Linked DNA regions of Homo sapiens: region 1 is linked to region 2. The links are contacts of gene promoters, found by promoter capture Hi-C in blood cells and fetal thymus (Javierre and others, 2016). All regions are on one chromosome and are shown on one strand. The core of a region is centred on a gene start or on the middle of the fragment in contact, and the rest is flanking DNA. Distances in the headings are between cores, read along the strand shown. Region 1 overlaps PROS1 (protein S). Region 2 holds the start of ARL13B (ARF like GTPase 13B).

Region 1 (3,388 bases), core at 480-2,979, 93 kb after region 2:
GACGCAAACAACAAATGCATGAAAAAATAAATATGCCAGATAGTTATTCATGTTATAAGGAAAAAGAAAAGCCAGACAAAGACATAGAGAGTAATGGTGGTTAGTATGCATATAGAATCAGGAAAGGCATCTCTGATGAGATTAGATCTGAGCTGAGACTTGAGAGCACATGTCATGAGAAATAAATGAGGGAATATAAAAAGATTCTGTACCATGTAAACAGCAAGTACAGAATTTCTTGGAATAGGATGTGTTTGGTATTTGAGGAATAACACAGAGTAGTGTAGCAGCAGGGGAGAGTAGTTAGAAAATGAGGTTAGAAACGTGGTCTAGAATAAGATCATCTAGGGCCTTGGAGGCCATGATGAGGATGTGGATTTTATGCTAAATTGAAAGGCCCTGGATGGTTTTGAGAAGGGACATGATCTAGTTTGCATTTTAAAAGATAATCCCAATCAGAAGCTAATGGCTTTGTGGAAACCAGAAGTGGAGAATGAGTGTATAACAGGATATGGGGATATGGAGTTAGGAGACTGTTGGAATAACCCAGCGGAGAGAAGATGACAGTTTGACTGGTGTGCTGATGGTAAGAGTGGTAAGAAGTGGTCAGATTCTGGATATATTTTTGAAGTTAAGCCTTCAATTAAAATTTTTGAATACTCAGCATAAAGAGGGGTTTTAAGGCCATGAAACTGTTTGTGTTGACCAGTGGTTCCAAACACTATCTCATCCAATGTCTGAAAATATATAATGCTCCTTTACTATTCTATAATGAAATGTATCAGTAATATAAACTACCTTCACATATACCCAATCAAAACCAAAATAATTCTGTCATTATTATATTAATATGGATAAATAAAAGGAAAGTAATTTATAAGAAAATAATATGTATTTCAATATATACGTAGTCAACTATAACTATAACACTTGTCAAAGCTTGCTTCTATGCATAAAGTAAAAGCTACAAATGAAGACTAATGCTGGGGTGTTAAATTAGCAACTCAAGTACCATTAAGGGCATACATGGTGTTGCCATTGGTAATATTAATTTTCCAAAGTGGTGGGAAGTTCCTGGTAAAGATATGAACAAAACAAATATCAATCTATCCTTAGTTGTCAAGATTATTACATTCTTGAAAAATGTAATGAATGCTAAAATAGTGCAGCAAATATTTTGTGTCTATGTATGCACAAACTCAGATGATTGTAAGCATGAATATTCCCTACATGAATACCTAGCAGTGATGTTCAAAAGATTTTAAGAATACTTGATATTTTATTATTAGTTCTGCATTACTTATTATTATTAATTCTGCATGACTAGCCTATGTACATAATGCAGATTGTCTATCATCTTGCAGTGCCAGCATGGCCCCTACTCATTGTGACAAATAAAAGTGTTCCTCACCTCCAAATTTTCCAAATGCCCTGGAGTGGAGTCATAGTGTCTCACTTAAAATACTTGCATGGCTACAGGAAAAAGGTCTGGGGCCTGAGCTGTGGGGAGGGGAGGATCCAGCAAAGGAGACTGAGAAGTAGTGGTTAGAGTGTAGAAAGAGAAGCAATCAGGGTCAAGTGTTGTAGGCTAAGTTAAGAAAGTCTGTAAAGGAGAGAATAGTTGTTCACATGCTGCTAATTGGCTATATTAAAGAAGGAGTGTTGACCAACTTTAAATTTGTGTAACTAAATTTATTTTATGTTGGAGGATAGTTTTTCCCTTCCTATCATGGTGTTTTAATATGCTTATTGTTTGGCTTATATTATTGGTTAGTGAGTGAAGAGTTTGCTCTTTGAGTGCTATAGTTTTACTTGAAGTGATTGCAGCAGTGGTTCTTCAAATTGCCTTTGTAGAAGGAATTTTTATTGTTGTTTACCCTTACTTGAAACCTTTTTTAAAAACCCAAACAACTCTCAAAATTGGAAAACTCCAATTTAATTTTATGTATTTTTTTCTTATTGCCTCAATCACTTTTGAATTTTAAAGAAAAAATAATTTGTGTGCAATTAACAGAATAGTGAACATATTGATTTTTCTTACTTTATATTAAGAACTTATGGGCCGGGCGCGGTGGCTCACGCCTGTAATCCCAGCACTTTGGGAGGCCAAGGCGGGTGGATCATGAGGTCAGGAGATCGAGACCATCCTGGCTAACAAGGTGAAACCCCGTCTCTACTAAAAATACAAAAAATTAGCCGGGCGCAGTGGCGGGCGCCTGTAGTCCCAGCTACTCGGGAGGCTGAGGCAGGAGAATGGCGTGAACCCGGGAAGCGGAGCTTGCAGTGAGCCGAGATTGCGCCACTGCAGTCCGCAGTCTGGCCTGGGCGACAGAGCGAGACTCCGTCTCAAAAAAAAAAAAAAAAAAAGAACTTATTTACACTATTGATTCCATGTGCGTATTATCAGACAATTGCAAAATAAGGCCACTTAAATTTTTCCTAAGATAGAATGGCTCACTTAATTGTTAATTTTCTAGCAGCCTGGAATTGAAAGATATATAACTGGATGTTTAAGCTTAACAGAATAGTATTTTTTTTAACTTTAAAATATGGTATGCTTTTAATTTTTGATCGTGCTGCCACCCTAAATGCCTTTTTATCACATTTATCATAATTTGACATTCCAAATGAGTTGTAACAAATTAATAATTACATTAAAATGATTACTTTACAGAAGTATTTTATTGGAATAATAACATAAGTTTTAGATCCCAGTATTTCAAATGACATGTAGTAATACTTGGTTATTTGGTAATTTTTCTTTTTAATTGTAGGTGTCTGTGGAAGAATTAGAACATAGTATTAGCATTAAAATAGCTAAAGAAGCTGTGATGGATATAAATAAACCTGGACCCCTTTTTAAGCCGGAAAATGGATTGCTGGAAACCAAAGTATACTTTGCAGGATTCCCTCGGAAAGTGGAAAGTGAACTCATTAAACCGGTAATGATCCAAGCTTGTATCATTCATCATGGATGAGTTCCTTTTGTCTGTAATAGATTTGAATATGTGTGTTTCTGAGAATCAATAGAAGTTGTTTTGTTAAGCATACTAAGTGTGACAACTTGAAATGATCATGGAAAAATAACATTAGTAACCCTTGAAATTATATTAATGAAATAAAAAAATGACGTAGTGGTTTTGTGCCCATTTAAATCCCCAGCATAAATCATGAAGTGGATTTCTAAAATTCTCAAGTTAACACTTGAGAATGTTAACACTAATGTTAACATTAGTAATGTAATGTTCAGTGTTAACATCATGATAATCCATACTCAGTTGTTAAACATATAAATTCATATATTTAAGTCCAAAATTACACCATTTTGTAAAAGCCAGTCAAAGGACTTTCTCAAGTCTATTTTTAGGACTTAAATGCAAGAGCTAAA
Region 2 (3,417 bases), core at 238-2,737:
CCAAAGTGCTGGGATTACAGGCGTGAGCCACCACACCCAGCCCATCTTTGACTTACAGAGTTGATCTTACTACTTATATTTAAAACATTCAAATTCAGTTAGGAGCTAATAATGGGGAAGAATCTCTAGTTTCATTTAAAGTTACTTTTTTTCCAATCTAGACATGTATTTTCTGTTATAATGTGTAAGTGTAGCTTTTCAGATTCATTCTTTAAAGGATAGTTCATTCTCATGGCAAATATACTTAAAATGTTAACAATTTAAAAAAAAAAACAACTTTGCTTTATCTTACCCTTGGCCCAATTCCAGACTAGAACTATGTGAAGTCAACATTATTTGTGTAACAAACACAAGATCTCTTTATAGGTTAGGCCTCAGTTTCAAAAGCATCAATTTCACTGATTATTTCCTAAGACAGTGCCTGGCACAAGGTATTGTCTTAATAAATATTTTTTGAATGAATGAATATCAAGTAACAGGTACTAATTATTAATACTTCCAGCATTTCAAAATGAAATGTTAAAAAGTGGACCCTTTCAATTAAAAGGTTTTACTAGAGACCGTATAAAAATTGGAAGCTACATTACAGTTAAGAAAACACTATCACTTGTTCTCATTGAATACAATATTTCTAAAGCAGAGTATTATCACTCTCATTTAATATTTAAGAAAGGTGGGGCCAAAATGGTTGAGTCATGTAATTATTAAGTAGTGGAGCCAGATTTCAAGCCCACGTCCTCAAATACAACTGTGTGGAGGTGTGACTTGGAATGGAATGTGCGGATATTATGAAAACTATATTCCATGTCCCCCTCTTTTTAAAAGAATTTCCATTACAAAAGCTTCAGAGGAAAAACACACAATGGATAGTTTTCAATTCCACACACACACACACACACACACACACACACACACTTTTTAACAAATTCAAACCTATTTAAAATATAACAACGGTAAGCATTGTCAATCGCAACAGAAAGTCGACCAGACAACAAGGCTACATCCTCCAATCTCTCCCTCCCGGGACACCCTGGGAATGAAAGCATCCCTTGCGGCCTGGGATAGACTCGTCCAGGCGCGGGGAAAAGGCGGCGCCTCGCCCCTGGGGCGCAGCCATCTCCAACCCCTAGGACGGCCAGGACAGCTGGCTCCAGCCTACCTGACAGGCTCCCGCCACCGCTTGAACCAGCCGCAGCAACTGGCCATCAGACTGAACATCCCGGGTCGCTCCTCCCACCACTTCCCATCCGAGCCCGGAGCGGACACCGGCACCCCGCTCTTCCCCGGGGGCCTCCGGCACTCCGAGACGCCCCTAAAGTGGATAAGTCGGGAGGAAAAGCCGGGAGGGAAGTGAAGGCGGCCGGCCCGAGCACTAAGCCTTGCTAACCGCGTGGGTCCGCGACGACTGCCCTCTTAGCCAAGGAACAACCTGACCAAAGACGCAGATACACCGTAGCCGAGTTAGCGGGACCCGGCTAAAGAAAAGCCCCGCGTCGACGTGCTGACGTTACTTCGAGGCGCGGAAGGCGTTCCCCAGGCAACGCCCGTACTGCGCTCGCCCAATCATCGGTTGAGGTCCTGAGGTAGAGGCCTCTGAGTGGCTGAAGAGTCCTGGCTACCCGCCCCTGCGCGAGACTAGGAAAAGAGAAAGGGGAGTACTCTATAAGAAGGAGGCGGAGCTCGAGGTAGCTCGTTCTCGTAACTAGGCAACCGGAGCGTCCGGAGATAAGCTGGAGGATCCGGGACAAATCTCCAGCAAGGCCTATCTTTATACCTACATAAAATGTGTTGCCAATCCACGGTGCTGTTCCTTTCCTTTCTCCAGTGTCCCCAACTGAGATTCAGAGATCTCAGGTCTTGTGCATGGGTTTTTCTTTTTCTTTCTTTCTTTTTTCTTGTTTTTTGTTTGTTTGTTTTTTGCTCAGGGATGGGGACCCTCTAGAATTCTGGCCGACTTAGGCAGCATGACTACAGGAACAATACACTGGGGCAATTCTTGTAAGTTAAAGACAAGGGGGAAATTCGCTTGCTAAATTTTCTCAGTAGTTCAGATGAGAGTGAAGCCTTAATCTCTAAAACGTTTATTACTGTTACATATGTGAAACGGAATTGTATGATATTTGTTGTAGGGGGGATTGTGATTACAAAAGAAAAATGCATTTCTTGTAGAAAATGTGAAAAATACTAAAAAGAAACAAGATGAAGAAAATGAGATCTCACAGGAGCTCTCAAAGATAACCATTTGGGGCCGGGCGCGGTGGCTCACGCCTGTAATCCCAGCACTTTGTGAGGCCGAGGCGGGCGGATCACGAGGCCAGGTGATCTAGACCATCCTGGCTAACATGGTGAAACCCCGTCTCTAGTAAAAATACAAAAAAAAAAAAACAAAAAAAAACAAAAACGGGTGTGGTGGCACGCGCCTGTAGTCCCAGCTACGCTGGAGACTGAGGCAGGGGAATTGCTTGAACCCGGGAGGCGGAGGTTGCAGTGAGCCGAGATCGCGCCACTGCACTCCAGTCTGGGCAACAGAGCAAGACTCCGTCTCAAAAATAAATAAATAACCATTTTGATGTATGTTTGTTTCAGGATTTTTAGGTACATAAATTGCTGGCTATTTGGTATCTGCAAGATGAAGATTGTTATCTCTTGACTGTTTTGTAATAGTTTATTTTTTAAAGAGGTATGTAATATTTGCATTTCTTTTATATACTTTGGAGAAAAAGAAATGACAAGGACATTCCTGTAGGGAAAAAATTATGCACAATATGTAGGGATCTGTGTGTCCATTCATTTTCTACTTAAATAAATATTTTCAAATCCTGATGAAAGGATAGAAGGCACTGAGAATCCCAGTGTATTCGCGGGGAATATAATGATTTGAGACTAAGATACATATAGGTTTTAAATTAGTCTCTGTCCTTTACTAAATCATGTAACTTTTTTTGGTTTTGTTTTGTTTTGTTTGAGACAGAGTCTCCCTCTATCACCCAGGTTGGAGTACAGTGGCATGATCTCGATTCACTGCAACCTCCGCTTCCTGGGGTCAAGTGATCCTCCTTCCTCAGTCTCCCAAGTAGCTGGGACTAGAGACGTGCACCATCACGCCCAGCTGATTTTTGTATTTTTTGTAGAGACAGGGTTTCATCATGTTGCCCAGGCTGGTCTCAAACTCCTGGCCTCAAATGATCCGCCTGCCTCGGCCTCCCAAAAGTGCTGGGATTATAGACATGAGCCATGGCACCCAGCCTCATGTAATTTTAATTCAAATTTATATACATCTCATACAGCTTGCTATCTCCAAAATACTGTGCCTTATGGGGAACAAAGGGGGTGATACCTTTTCTTCTCATCATAACAGTCACAGCCAACACTCATATAACAAAAAGAATAGCAAGAGAAAAGCATAACAAATTTATT

The links. The method cuts DNA at HindIII sites, captures the fragments that hold promoters and counts their contacts. A CHiCAGO score of 5 or more calls a contact.
Region 1: a fragment that was not itself captured here is called in contact with the fragment with the promoter of ARL13B in region 2 in 1 of 17 cell types (megakaryocytes); the score reaches 5.2 in megakaryocytes.

The regions. Positions count from the first base shown.
Region 1 is chr3:93,885,890-93,889,277 of GRCh38, reverse strand. PROS1 (protein S) reads left to right here. Exons shown (of 15, transcript NM_000313.4): 11 at 2,775-2,942. Among named protein-coding and RNA genes, the nearest start is that of PROS1, 86 kb to the left of the region's middle. The HindIII fragment of the contact is 1,576 bases long and covers 942-2,517 here.
Region 2 is chr3:93,978,225-93,981,641 of GRCh38, reverse strand. It overlaps ARL13B (ARF like GTPase 13B), which reads right to left and starts at 1,487. Exons shown (of 10, transcript NM_001174150.2): 1 at 1,160-1,487. The coding sequence starts at 1,218. RefSeq lists enhancers at 1,320-1,449, 1,720-1,879. The HindIII fragment of the contact is 5,745 bases long and covers 845-3,417 here.